5 separate regions of the Homo sapiens genome follow, and all the other regions are linked to region 3. The links are contacts of gene promoters, found by promoter capture Hi-C in blood cells and fetal thymus (Javierre and others, 2016). All regions are on one chromosome and are shown on one strand. Each heading gives the region's core, a stretch centred on a gene start or on the middle of the fragment in contact. The rest is flanking DNA. Distances are from core to core; before and after follow the strand shown.

Region 1 (2,700 bases), core at 167-2,666, 190 kb after region 3:
AGGGTCTTTGTCACCCAGGCTGGAGTGCAGTGGTGTGATTGTAGCTCACTGCAGCCTTGACCTCCCTGGGCTCAGGTGATCCTCTCATCTCAGCCTCCCAAGCAGCTGGGACCACAGGTGCGTGCCACCACGCTTGGGTAATTTTTGTATTTTTCTGTAGAGACGGTCTCACCATGTTGCTCAGGATGGTCTCAAATTCCTAGGCTCAAGCGATCTGCCCGCCTTGGCCTTCCAAAGTGTTAGGATTACAAGTGTGAGCCACTGGGCCTGGCCGACACCATTTTTTCTTGGCGTTACTTTGAACCTTTCTGGCTACCTTTCCTCAGTATCCACAGATTCCTCTTTCAGATCCCAACTGTAATCCTGGTGTTTTGTCAGGGTTCTGTCCATACCTTTCCTTTCTTTTTACTCTACATGCTCTACTTGGGTAATTTTATCTGCTCTCCAGGCTTCAACTATTGATGCATTTCCAAATCTGTTACTCTATCCTAGAACTCTCTCTTTTTTTTTTTTTTTTTGAGATGGAGTTTTGCTCTTTCGCCCAGGCTGGAGTGAAGTGGCACAATCTCCGCTCACTGCAACCTCTGCCCCCCAGGTTCAAGCGATTCTCCTGCCTCAGCTTCCCAAGTAGCTGGGATTACAGGCCTGCGCCACCATGCATGGCTAATTTTTGTATTTTTAGTAGAGACGGGGTTTCGCCATCTTGGCCAGGCTGGTCTCGAACTCCTGACCTCAGGTGATCCACCTGCCTCTGCCTCCCAAAGTGCTAGGATTACAGGCATTACCGCACCCGGCCTATCCTGGAACTCTCTATTATGCTCCAGATGCATAGACTCAGCTGCCTATTTGACACTTCCATTTGTTCCCCAAACTGTTCTGTTTTGTAAGTTTTCAGGTAACTACACTATAACCAACCCAATTTTTTTTTTTTTTTGAGACAGGGTCTTGCTCTGTTGCCCAGGCTGTAGTGCAGTGGCACCATCATGGCTCACTGAAGCCTTGACTTCCTGGGCTCAAGTGATCCTCCCACCTCAGCCCCTGAGTAGCTGGGACTACAAACATGTGCCACCAGGTCTGGTGTTTTTTTTTTTGGTACAGATGGGGTCTCACTATGTTGTCCAGGCTGGTCTCAAACTCCTGGGCTCAAGTGATTCTTCTACGTCAGCCTCCCAAAATGCTGGGATTACAGGCACGAGCCACTGTGCCTAGACAACCCAATTTCTTTTTTTTTTTTGAGATGGAGTCTTGCTCTGTCACCAAGGATGGAGTGCAGTGGCGTGATCTCAGCTCACTGCAACCCCTGCCTCCCAGGTTCAGGCCATTATCCTGCCGCAGCCTCCCAAGTAGCTGTAATTACAGGCACCTACCACCATGGCCGGTTAATTTTTGTATTTTTAGTAGAGACGGGGTTTCACCATGTTGACCAGGCTCATCTCGAACTCTGACCTCAGGTGATCCACCTACCTCGGCCTCCCAAAGTGCTGGGATTACAGGTGTGAGCCACTGTGCTTGGCCAGCCAACCCGATTTCTTAAGCTACAAACTTGGGTATCACCCCTAGTCCCTTGCTCTCCATAATCTACCACCCCATTACCAAGTTCTATCTATTCTTTATATTTATCAGATGTCTACTTTTCTTTCTCCTATCATTACCTTATTTCAGACTCTAAATCTTGGCCCATCTGGATTACTACAATAGCCTCCTAACTGGGTTTTTTTTTTTCCCTTTAAAACATAGCAGACACTATAAAAGGAGTAACTGGGTTTTCTCCTTCTAATTTTGTTTTGCATCATTCTTCCCATTTCTTAGAGTAGTGCTTTTTTTTTTTTTAAACTGTTTTGGGTCACAGTTCCTTTGAAGAATGTAATGAAAGGTACGGAGAGCTTCACTGAAAAATGCACGTAAGTATAACTGGACTCTCTGAAATCCATCCATGGAGTAGAACAAGTTAGGAACTGCTGTGCTATAATAATCTTTCTAAAATATAAATCCAGTCACTTCATTTCCCTGCTTAAAATCCATCAATGGCTCTCCTTTGCCTTCAGGATAAAGCCCAAACCTCTTAGACAAACATGTACACAAATAATAAATAATTCCAGTTATAAATATAAATGCTGTGAAGTATATGAAATGAGAAATGTGGTAGGAACTAGTGTAGGAGTGGGCAATGGTGCTTGAAGTCTATGAAAACAGCATTTAAGATAGAAATGATAAAAACAGAGACCACTACATGAAGATCTGGGGACAAACATTTGAAGCCGGAGCCAAAGTCTAAAGACCAGAAAGAGTTTGACATGTTTAAGAGATAAAGTCAGTAGAGGGAACACAGTGAGTAAGATGGAGACGGGGCAGAGGTGAGGTTGAAGAGCCCTGTCTCCAGCAGATCATACGAAGACCTAGATCACGTAAGGCTTCCTAGCCCGTACCTTGGATTTCTTCTAAAAGTAAAGGAAAGCTATTAAAGGAGTCTAATCAGTGGATGTGTTGTTTTGTTTTGAACAACTTAGAAAGTCATTTTGGCTACTAAGTAGGTAAGAATGCAGCTAGGGAGACCATTAACGAAAGCGTTTGCAAAGAGTTGAGAGATGGCAGTGAAAAGATGAGAAATGGTTGGATTTGAGGTAATTTTGGAAACTGGGCTGATATGTTTTACTGTGAGATTAGAGGGTTCCAAGGATTTTGGCTTAAGCAGAAATGGTG
Region 2 (2,700 bases), core at 172-2,671, 220 kb after region 3:
AAAAAAAAAAAAAAAGAAAACCCTAAACATTCCACAAAAAACCCTGTTATAACTAATAAATGAATTCAGCAAAGTTGCAGGATACAAAATCAACACACAAAAATTAGTTATGTTTCCATACACAGTGAACAACTTGAAAAATTAAGAAAACAATTCCATTAACAGTAGCATCAGAAAGAATGAAAGTTAGGAATGACCCTAACCAAAGAAGTGAAAAATTTGAATATTAAAAACCGTAAAATACTGCTGAAAAGAATTAAAGAGCATACAAATAAATAGAAAGACATCCTGTGTTCATGGATTGGAAGACTTAATATTGTTAAGATATGAATTCTTCCCAAAGCGATCTACAGATTCAACAGAATACCTATCAAAATCCCAACAGCATTTTTTTTGCAAATAGAAGTTTCATCCCAAAATTAATTTGGAATCTCACGTTACCCCTAATAGCCAGAACAGTTTTCAAAAAGAAAAACAAAGCTGGAGGACTCAAACTTTCTGATTTCAAAATATATTACTAAGCTATGGTAATAAAACTAGTGTGGTACTGGCATAACAACAGACATATAGACAATGGAATAGAGACTCCAGAAATAAACCCTTGCATATGTGGTCAGATGATCTTGGACAGAGGTGCTAGGACCCCTCTGTGGAGCAAGGACAGTCTCTTCAGCAAACAGTGTTGGGAAAACTGGACTTTCACATACAAAACAAAAATTTGGACTCATATTTTACACTATATATAAAAATAAACTCAAAGTGGATTAAAGACCTAAATATAAGACCTAAAACTGTAAAACTCCTAAAAGAAAACTTAGAGGAAAGGCTTATAACTTAAAACTTAGAGGAAAGGCTTTATAACTTTGGATTTGGCAGTGATTTCTGGCATATGACACCATAAGCACAGGCAACAAAAGCAAAAATAGGCAAATGGGACTGCATCAAACTTAAAAACTTTGGTGCATCAATGAACACAATCAACTTGAAAAGGCAACCTGTGGAATGGGAGAAAATGTTTGTAAATTGTGTATCTGTTAAAGTATTAATATCCAGAATGTAGAAAGAACAACAACTCAACAACAAAAAATCAAATAAACAGATTAAAAAATAGGCAAATGACTTGAATAGTCATTTCTCCAAAGATGATAAACCAATGGTCAAGACACATTTGAAAAGATGTTCAACATCACTAATCATCAGAGAGATCCAAATCAAAACCACAATGAGATATCACCTCACATCCATTAGGATGGCTACTATTAAAAAACAAACAGGGAATTACGAGTGTTAGTGAAGATTATGAGAAATTGGAACTATTCTTGTGCACTGTTGGGACTGTAAAATGGTGCAACTGTGATGGAAAACAGCATGGCAGTTCCTCAAAAAATTAAAAATAGAATTACTATGTAATCCATCAAACTCATTTCTGGATATGTATCCAGAAGTATTCAATGCAGGACCTCAGAGAGATATTTGCACACCTATGCTCATAGCACATTCAGGATAGCTAAGAGGTGAAAACAACGCAGATGTCCTTGATGAATAAATAAAATATGGTATATACACACAATGGAATATTATTTAGCTTTAAAAAGGAAATAAATCCTGTCATATGCGACAGTGTGGGTGAACCTTGAGGATATTGTGTTAAGTGAAATAAGCCAGTCAAAGACGAATACTGTATGCTTTCACTTATATTAGGTATTATTACTGAAACACCAGGGATGTGTTCTAGGTTATGCTGCTTGCTGCACAGAAAGCCAGTTGCTGAGACGATGAGTTTTGCCAGAGAAGGAGGTTTTAATTGGGTGCTGTAGCTGAGGAGAGGGTAACTCAGTCTCAAATCCATCTCCCTGGCTGACTACAATTAAGGGCTTATATAGCAGGGAAGAACTGTAACTACATGCAGGAAAATAGGAATTAGGGAGAGATAAGGAAGAGAAGTTGGTCAACAGGAAGCAGGAGGTCACTTAGGCAATCATGATGGGTTGAGGGGTTTGAGGTTTCATTGTTTAGATGCAGTGATCTGGTACGTTTCAGTTCCTTGATATCATCTGGGAGACCTGATGGTTGGTTTCCTGAGAAAGGAACTCAGATAAGACAAATGTAACTTTTTCAAGTTTTAAGACTGGGAGGGTCAATTTCTATCTTTATTCAAAAGAAACTATAATGGTCAGTTCTATGGGACAGTTAGGTTGTTGGTGTCAGTATCAAAAATTATAAATTCATAGAAACAGAGGTAGAATGGTGGTTACCAGGGAATGAAGGGGAGAAATGGGTTGTTGTTGTTTAATGGGTATAGAGTTTCAGTTTTGCAAGATGAGAAGGTTCTGGAGATGTTTCACAGCAGTGTGAATATACTTAACACTTCTGAACTGTACACTTAAAAATGGTTAATATGGGCTGAGTGTGGTGGCTCATGCCTGTAATCCTAGTATTTTGGGAGGCTGAGGCAGGCAGATTGCTTGAGCTTAGGAGTTCAAGACCAGCCTGGGCAACATGGTGAAGCCTCATGTCTACAAAAAATACAAAAATTAGCCAGGTGCAGTGGGATGCACCTGTAGTCTCAGGAGGCGGAAGTTACAATGAGTTGAGATCATGCCACTGCGCTCCAGCTTGGGTGACAGAGGGAGACCCTGTCTCAGAAAAAAAAAAAAAAGTTAAGATGGGAAATTTTTATGTATTTTCTACCACAAAATG
Region 3 (2,700 bases), core at 33-2,532:
TGGCAAGTACTAAAAGATGATGATCTCAGATATACCTATGGCTGCAAAAACATGACATGGCTAAATCCCTTGGTTGCAGTATCTCTTTTCTTTTTTAAGGGGGGTGGGGGGGCGGGTCTCACTGTTGCCCAGGCTGGAGTGCAATGGCGTTATCATAGCTCACTGCAGCCTCAAACTCCTGCGCTCAAGTGACCCTCCTGCCTCAGCTCCCAAAGTGCTGAGATTTTGCAATATTTATGGTCACAAGATTATGTTATTCCATAAAAGTATCTTTCTGAGGCTAGGCATGTTGGTTCACACTTGTAATCCCAGCACTCTGAGAGGCTGAGATGGAAGGATTCATTGAGGCAAGGAGTTCAAGACCAGCCTGGTCAACATAGTGAGACCTCATCTCGGAAGGAAGGAAGGAAGGAGGGAGGGAGGGAGGGAGGGAGTGAAGGAAGGAAGGAAGGAAGGAAGGAAGGAAGGAAGGAAGGAAGGAAAAGTATATTTTTGAATCTTTTTCTATTTCTCCAACTCTTTCTTTAGAAGAATTCTATTTCCATTCTTTCTTCACCTCTTTGCCTTTGTTAGCCTTCTCTCCAAGCAAATCGGGAGCCTTTATTTTTTGTGTATTCATGAGGGAGAGGAAGATGAATTGCTGTACAAACTAAAGTAATGAAAATGGAGTAGGTAGGAGGATAGACAGCTGCAAGGATCTGAGCTGGATAGACTGAACAAACCCTCATCCTAAGCAACTCACAGCTCAGATTTCTTCTCTGGACAGCTGGCTTTTTTCGTCCTTCTGAAATACTCTGCAAAGATAGGAGAGGGGCTATGAACTACCTCTGCTATGGATCTTATTCAAAGTCAGCTACCTCCTAGATACTATCTGTAGAACCTAAATGTAATATTCAGCATAGCAGGGATGAACATGGTAAATGAAAGGTATCCAATTGCCCACTGTAATTTTTAAAGGCCAGGAGCTCAACATTATTGAAAATGCTGGAGGGCTGCCTGGAGTAGGCAGTGACCACAGAGTCACACAAGCTGGAATTGGATATCCAACTTGTCTGTCATATTTCTCTCCTCCCTCCCTGACTTGGCACTCAATACTCCATATTCTTTCTAATCCTCTAACCCTCCCCACTCCCCCAACTCCCACACCCTACCCCCACCAACGTTCCTGGAATTTTGGACTTAGCTATTTTTAAAACCGTCAACTCAGTAGCCACCTCCCTCCCTGCTCAGCTGTCCAGTACTCTGGCCAGCCATATACTCCCCCTTCCCCCCATACCAAACCTTCTCTGGTTCCCTGACCTCAGTGAGACAGCAGCCGGCCTGGGGACCTGGGGGAGACACGGAGGACCCCCTGGCTGGAGCTGACCCACAGAGTAGGGAATCATGGCTGGAGAATTGGATAGCAGAGTAATGTTTGACCTCTGGAAACAGTAAGTCAAAATGAAATTGCAATTCCTTTAATAAGCTTTTATATTGAAGTTAGACTTTTATAAAATTACAAACACCTACTTGGATGTCTCTCGTCCAAATGCTGGGATCTCTCCCTACCAAGGTGCCCCAATCTCCATTTCTCTTTCTGTCTTATTTCTTTCTGGCCTCTGGCCTCTAGCTTTTTGAAGTTTAATTCTCTGTCTCTCCTCTGGCAGTCTTAGCCCTCTCTTTACCTTATTACCTCAAGACTCCTGATGAAGTTTTAGAAGGAGTTCCCTACGTCCTCTATTCTGTAGTTTTCTTACCAAGGCCAAATATGACCTCAGATGATGAGTCACTGATACCCTTCTATCCTGCCCCCACTTAGCAATGCCCTTCACATTGAGATTCCAAGCATGGGGGCTGCTCCCTGTAAATGATTTCTCCCCACAACTCTAGTCCCTCCATTCTATTCTCCCTCTTGCAGGACTCTTCCCCCAATCATATCCTTACCCATAAGATAGGGGAGTTAGGCAGGAGGGATTTAGCCCCTCTCCAACTCCTGTCATCATAAAAGACTGAGAACTTCAGAATTTGAAAAGAAGAGATTAATGGAAGGAGTGATATTTGGGAAAATACAAGAACTGTTGACTTAGAAAAAACAAATATTGATTTGCATGTTTGGTTTGCATCCCATTATTCCATGAGAGAGGGAGATTAAAATTGCAGCTCTCTAGAGCTGATGAAAAGAGATTGGTTTCCTTTTCATTTGAATACTGATATTCTAGACGGGATGGGTATGCCACCCTTAATCCTTCTTGTGTTCTGACACAAAGGAGGAAAAGAAATGTATGACTCCTAGAGGGCATCTCCTCCTAATGGAGAGGGACAAATAAGAAGTATGTTTCTGAAATATTTTCAGGTCCTAATTTTACTAGGGTACCCACTAGGATTACTGGTATCTGATCTAGCCCCATGATTCCTCCATCTTTGACATACCTGCTGTTTGGTAGCTCAGAATGGAGCAATACAGTGGACTCTGCCCCCTTGAGTTCACTCAACCTTCCCTCCACCCCCACCTAGGGGTATTGCACAAGGGCCCTAAAAGTGGCCACAGGAACAGGGCAAAGAGGCTTAACTGCCACACTTATAGTTTGAGGAACTCCAATCTCCCCAAATTCCAGTCTGTTCATCCTTTTCTTGATCTCCCCAGATTCACTCCACATTATCCTTACCAATCTTCAATTCTTCTCTCTCTCCATGTCCAGCCAAATTTCTTTTTTCAGTCAC
Region 4 (2,700 bases), core at 167-2,666, 150 kb after region 3:
TGTTGGGGAAGAAGTCAGGTTGGTCTTTGTGTTCTTGGGAACCTCATTCCTTCCCAGTGGAGGTTCTGAAGAGCTCTGCCTGCTGCCACCACCATCTTCATAGATAGATGACCCCAGAAGTAGAATCGACACTTCTGGACCCGTTGGCTGAATTTACTGGTTGTCAAATTATCTTTTATGCAAGAGGATCCTTTTTTCCAATAAAAAATGTATGTAGAATCCCTGTGATCCCAGCACTTTGGGAGGCCAAGGCGGGTGGATCACGAGGTCAAGAGATTGAGACCATCCTAGCTAAAATGGTGAAACCCCATCTCTACTAAAAATACAAAAAATTGGTCAGGCATGGTGGTGGGTGCCTGTAGTCCCAGCTACTCGGGAGGCTGAGGCAGGAGAATGGCATGAATCTGGGAGGTGGAGGTTGCAGTGAGCCGAGATTGCACCACTGCACTCCAGCCTGGGCGAGAGAGGAGCGAGACTCCGTCTCAAAAAAAAAAGTATGTAGAACCTTGATATACAGAGCAGATAAAAATGGAGCTCATCCAGTTGGCCCCCTAATTTCTGTTCCTGCAGCTCTAAGGAATGGCATTTGAAAAGCCTAGTCCTGGCCTGGTGCAGTGGCTCATACCTGTAATCCCAGCACTTTGGGAGGCTGTGGAGGGTGGATCACCTGAGGTCAGGAGTTCAAGACCAGCCTGACCAACATGGAGAAACCCTGTCTCTACTAAAAATACAAAATTAGCCGGGTGTGGTGGTGCATGCCTGTAATCCCAGCTACTCGGGAGGTTGAGGCAGGAGAATCGCATGAACCTGGGAGGCAGAGGTTGCAGTGAGCCGAGATCATGCCATTGCACTCCAGCCTGGGCAACAAGAGTGAAACTCCGTCTCAAAAAAAAAAAAAGAGAAGTCTAGTCTGGTCTAATGTTGGTCTGTTGTTCTCCTGACCCCACTGAATGAGAGCTTACCCTGTGAGTGGAATGTCTGGAACCAGGACTTCTGGGTTCCATGTGGAAAGTCTGTGCTCAGATTTGTCTCAACCCACAGATCGGCTTTGATCCTGGCCTGTGAGAAAGGCAGTGCCGAGGTGGCTGAACTGCTCCTGAGCCACGGAGCTGACGCGGGGGCTGTGGACAGCACAGGGCATGATGCTCTGCACTATGCTCTGCACACACAAGACAAGGCACTGTGGAGGCACCTACAGCAGGCCCTGAGCCGGCGGCGGCGGGGCGGTAAAGGCCCTTGTGTAACTTCCACGTTCTCTAAGAATCAGAGAAGTTTCTTAGAGTCCCATTTGTTTCCATGGAAGTAATCTATCTGACAAATAATTGTCACCTGGGTTGAGAGTTTACGTATTTATTGCTGCTACTGTGAGAGGACCCCAAATCCCCATCCCAAAAGTATGATCACAAAATTCTTTAATGCAGCCTGGTCTCTCACTGAGGACAGCTCTGGCTAGTGTTGTTTCTGGCGTTTGTGAGTTGTAATTGTACATCTATTTGTGTGATTTGTTGGTCACTCTCTCTTTCCTCTACCAGATTGTAACCCCCTTAGGTGACAGGCCATTTCTGTTTTGCTCACCATTGAAGTTCCAGTGCTTATTAAAGTGCTGGACATAGTGACCAATAAATAAATGAGCGAACAAAATGAATGAAGTGGCCCATTTCTGGGATAGGAAACCAAAGTTGCTGGATAGTTAGGGATCCACTAAACAAGATTGGCTTCTGGCACCAGGAAGATGTGCAGTGAGATTGATCACAGAGAGGCCACTCCTCTCAGAAAAAGTCTGAAGATAAGAATGTGGGCTGGAAGTACATGGAACCTGTCTTCTCTCTCATTTTCCTCATATCTTTTCTTATAGGTCAGAGGCTAGTCCAGCACCCAGATCTCGCATCCCAGGTAAGACCCTAAGTGCCTCCCCCTTTTGCTTTTGACACACCCCAGGCTATCCCACTGTGACTATTCCTAGTGGTCCTTGGGGTGTCAAGACATTTAAGAGAAGAAAGGCACTCCTAGGGCTCAGTTCGTTGCCTAGTGGCCACACTTTACTATTCTGTTTCCAACATAGGCCTCTCCATCTGAGCCCCAGGCAGGTTCTCCTCCTAAGAGCTCATGGAGAGCAGAGCCTGAAGAGGAGCAAGAGGAGAAGGAGGATGAAGACCCGTGCTCGGAGGAGTGGAGGTGGAAGTATGAAGAGGAGCGGAGGAAAGTTGTTCGGCTGGAGCAGGAGCTGGTGCAAAAGACAGAAGAGTGTAAGACTCAAGCTGCAGCCTATCTGGACCTTGAGAACCAGATTCGAGAGCAGGCGCAGGAGCTAGGGGTCCTCCTATCCTGGGAGCCCAGAGCTTCAGGAAAGCAAGGCTCTAGTCTCCGGCCTGGAGGGGATGGCATGGAGCAGGGTTGTCCTAAGGACCTGCTGGCTGAGAGTACACAAGAGCTAAAGAAGCAGCAGCAGGCAGCAGCCACAGTAAATCCAGTATTAGCTCCAAAGAAGGCTGAGGACTCAGCCCCAGGAAAGATCCAGTATGAAGTCCATGGAAGGTCCCAACCAGAAGAACAGGGGCCACCCCAGAGCCCAGCGTCTGAGACCATCAGGAAAGCCACAGGACAGCAACTGACTACCAATGGGGCACAGACCTTTGGCCCTGATCATGCTGACCAGCTGCCTGCTGGTCAGAAGGAGAGTTCCCAGGTTCTAGGAGTTGA
Region 5 (2,700 bases), core at 75-2,574, 240 kb after region 3:
TTAAGAACACAGCCTCTGGAACCAGATTGCCTGAGCTCAAATCCTGTGTCTGCCACTTATTGGCTGTGTAATCTGGGCAAAGTTACTTAGAATCTCTCAGTGCCTCTCTTGTCCTTGTCTGTAAATTGGGAAATAATCATCCTTCCCTCATAGGGATGTTACGAGGATTAAATGAGTTAATACATGCTAGGTGTGTAGACCGCAATGTGCCTACCATCTAGTGAGTGCTTGATACATTTTAGCCATTATTAAGACTTCATAGTGAAGTTAGAACTTGCACTGGAGCCTTGAAGAGTAGGTGGAATTTAGATAAGCAAAGATGTGAAAATTATCTCAAAATAGTATTCATAAGCTATAAGGTTTTATGCTCATGTCCCTGAAGAAAAAACTTAGAAATAAAATTATATATAGAAACTAAAGTTGTTTTTCTTTTCCCTGCTTTAGTTGGTAATTTCGGCAAAGACTTATGCTCAGTTTTGCTCTATTTTTCTTTAGCTGGAGCTGCTTGTACAATGAAGTGGTTATTTTCTATAAGTAACATTTACTGATAGCTGAATTCTTAAAATACTGTCTATATTAGAAGAGGCTTATTCCAAGAAAATTTCTGTCAAAATCAGTATTGACTTTTTTTTAAAAAAATGAGACTGGGGTAGGAGATAAGAGACTAATGGGATAGAGAGAAGGTAGGGGAGGGTTGCCAGTTACATGGGAGCAGTGTTTGAATAATGTGTGAGGGCCGGTGGAGAGTGAATCTGAAAATATTGCTAGCAGTTTGTAGAGAGAAGACATTGCTATACTAAGCTTCCTGGTGGTAATCTAGAAAGTGAGCCCCATAGCTACCTGAAGGTTTCATTGATTACTTGCAAACTTCTGACCACGACCTGGTGCCAGTGGGTCATCTGATCTTAGAGTCTCAGCTTACCTGAATGGATTGCTTCAGTGCAAGAGTGGCTCTGGCTGCTGCCTCAGATTGGGAGAAAATAAGATACATGGCTTTCTGGAAAAAAGAGCTCTCAGGTATGCACAAGAGGGCAGGGTGCTCTGAGCTGATTTATATGTATTTAAATAAAATTTGTTATTTGTTTTTGTTACATAAGCAGCATTATAGTGGCAGTAAAAAATTTAAAAATATGTATCTTGAGTTTCACTTTTTTTTTTTTTTTTTTTTTTTTAGACGGAGTCTCACTCTGTTGCCCAGGCTGGGGTGCAGTGGCGCAATCTCGGCTCACTGCAACCTCCGCCTTCTGGGTTCAAGCGATTATCCTGCCTCAGCCTCCTGAGTAGCTGGGACCACAGGCGCGTGCCACCACGCCTGGCTAATTTTTTATATTTTTAGTAGAGACGGGGTTTCACCGTGTTAGCCAGGATGGTCTCGATCTCCTGACCTCGTGATCTGCCCGCCTTGGTCTCCCAAAGTGCTGGGATTACAGGTGTGAGCCACTGCGCCCGGCCGAGTTTCACTATTCTAAGAGCTCCCTTTTCCATACATTTCCTTTCAGATTTTGTCCTAAGGCATAGTTACTGAAAAATAACAACCTTAAGCTCTTTTTTGTTTGTTTTTTTGAGACGGGGTCTCGCTCTGTTGCCCAGGCTGGAGTGCAATGGCACGATCTCGGCTTACTGCAACCTCTGCCTCCTGGGTTCTAGTGATTCTCTCACCTCAGCCTCCCGAGTAGCTTGGATTACAGGCCCCCGCCGCCAAACCTGGCTAATTTTTGTATTTTTGGTAGAGATGGGGTTTTACCACGTTGGCCAGGCTGGTCTGGAACTCCTGACCTCAGGTCATCCTCTCGTCTTGGCCTCCCAGAGTGCTGGGATTACGGGCTTGAGTCACCGTGCCTGGGCCTAAGCTTTTTTAAAAATGAGAAATATTGGCCGGGCATGCAGATCACTTGAGGTCAGGAGTTCCAGACCAGCCTGTCCAATGTGATGAAACCCTGTCTTTACTAAAAATACAAAAATTAGCCAGGTGTGGTGGCGGGCACCTGTAATCCCAGCTATTCGGGAGGCTGAGGCAGGAGAATCGCTTGAACCCAGGAGGCGGAGGTTGCAGTGGGCTGAGATTGTGCCACTGCACTCTAGCCTGAGCAACAGAGCGAGACTCCGTTTCAAAAAATAAAGAAATATCCCATATTGTCATTACTTGATTATAGCTTTATGCATTTTTTAGCAAAATACTTCTCATTTCTCATGTGCATACCTCATAACTGTTTAGAGTTGCTGTCATAAGAGTATATTGTATTTCTGCCTCTAAAAATTTACTTGGTATTATGTCATAAACCTTTTACTTGTCTCTCTATAGTTATTAGAATTATAGCTGGACGTGGTGGCTCATGCCTGTAATCCTAGCACTTTGGGAGGGCGGAGGCAGGCGGATTGTTTGAGCCCAGGAGTTCAAGACCAGCCTGGGCAACATGGTAAAACCCTGTGTCTACAAAAATAAAAATAAAAAGCCAGGTGTAGTGGCATATGTGTGTAGTCCCAGCTACTCGAGAAGCGGAGGTGGGAGAATCTCTTGAGCCTGGGAGGCAGAGGTTGCAGTGAGCTGAGCTCGTGCCACTGCACCCCAGCCTGGGTGTCAGAGTGAGACCCTGTCTCCAAAAAAAAAAAAAAAATTAGGACTTCATATTCTTTAATGGCTACATTATATTTATTAAACTATTATCCTGTGTTAGGCATGTCTAGTTATATATGATGGTT

The links. The method cuts DNA at HindIII sites, captures the fragments that hold promoters and counts their contacts. A CHiCAGO score of 5 or more calls a contact.
Region 1: a fragment that was not itself captured here is called in contact with the fragment with the promoter of HJV in region 3 in 17 of 17 cell types (total CD8 T cells, activated CD4 T cells, total CD4 T cells and 14 more); the score reaches 23.3 in total CD8 T cells.
Region 2: a fragment that was not itself captured here is called in contact with the fragment with the promoter of HJV in region 3 in 1 of 17 cell types (activated CD4 T cells); the score reaches 5.4 in activated CD4 T cells.
Region 4: a fragment that was not itself captured here is called in contact with the fragment with the promoter of HJV in region 3 in 5 of 17 cell types (activated CD4 T cells, total CD8 T cells, neutrophils and 2 more); the score reaches 7.2 in activated CD4 T cells.
Region 5: a contact is called between a fragment that was not itself captured here and the fragment with the promoter of HJV in region 3, in 2 of 17 cell types (non-activated CD4 T cells and total CD8 T cells). The highest score is 5.7, in non-activated CD4 T cells.

The regions. Positions count from the first base shown.
Region 1 is chr1:145,829,333-145,832,032 of GRCh38, reverse strand. All of the region lies in intron 5 of POLR3C (RNA polymerase III subunit C), which reads right to left. Among named protein-coding and RNA genes, the nearest start is that of POLR3C, 6.5 kb to the right of the region's middle. The HindIII fragment of the contact is 3,385 bases long and covers 1-2,700 here.
Region 2 is chr1:145,796,388-145,799,087 of GRCh38, reverse strand. All of the region lies in intron 1 of RNF115 (ring finger protein 115), which reads left to right. Among named protein-coding and RNA genes, the nearest start is that of RNF115, 26 kb to the left of the region's middle. RefSeq lists a silencer at 1,846-2,046. The HindIII fragment of the contact is 3,772 bases long and covers 1-2,700 here.
Region 3 is chr1:146,020,317-146,023,016 of GRCh38, reverse strand. HJV (hemojuvelin BMP co-receptor) reads left to right here and starts at 1,282. Exons shown (of 4, transcript NM_213653.4): 1 at 1,282-1,430; 2 at 2,697-2,700. The HindIII fragment of the contact is 1,771 bases long and covers 1-1,463 here.
Region 4 is chr1:145,873,348-145,876,047 of GRCh38, reverse strand. ANKRD35 (ankyrin repeat domain 35) reads left to right here. Exons shown (of 14, transcript NM_144698.5): 8 at 1,042-1,226; 9 at 1,856-1,893; 10 at 2,063-2,700. Among named protein-coding and RNA genes, the nearest start is that of ANKRD35, 11 kb to the left of the region's middle. The HindIII fragment of the contact is 7,026 bases long and covers 1-2,700 here.
Region 5 is chr1:145,779,091-145,781,790 of GRCh38, reverse strand. All of the region lies in intron 3 of RNF115 (ring finger protein 115), which reads left to right. Among named protein-coding and RNA genes, the nearest start is that of RNF115, 44 kb to the left of the region's middle. The HindIII fragment of the contact is 1,049 bases long and covers 800-1,848 here.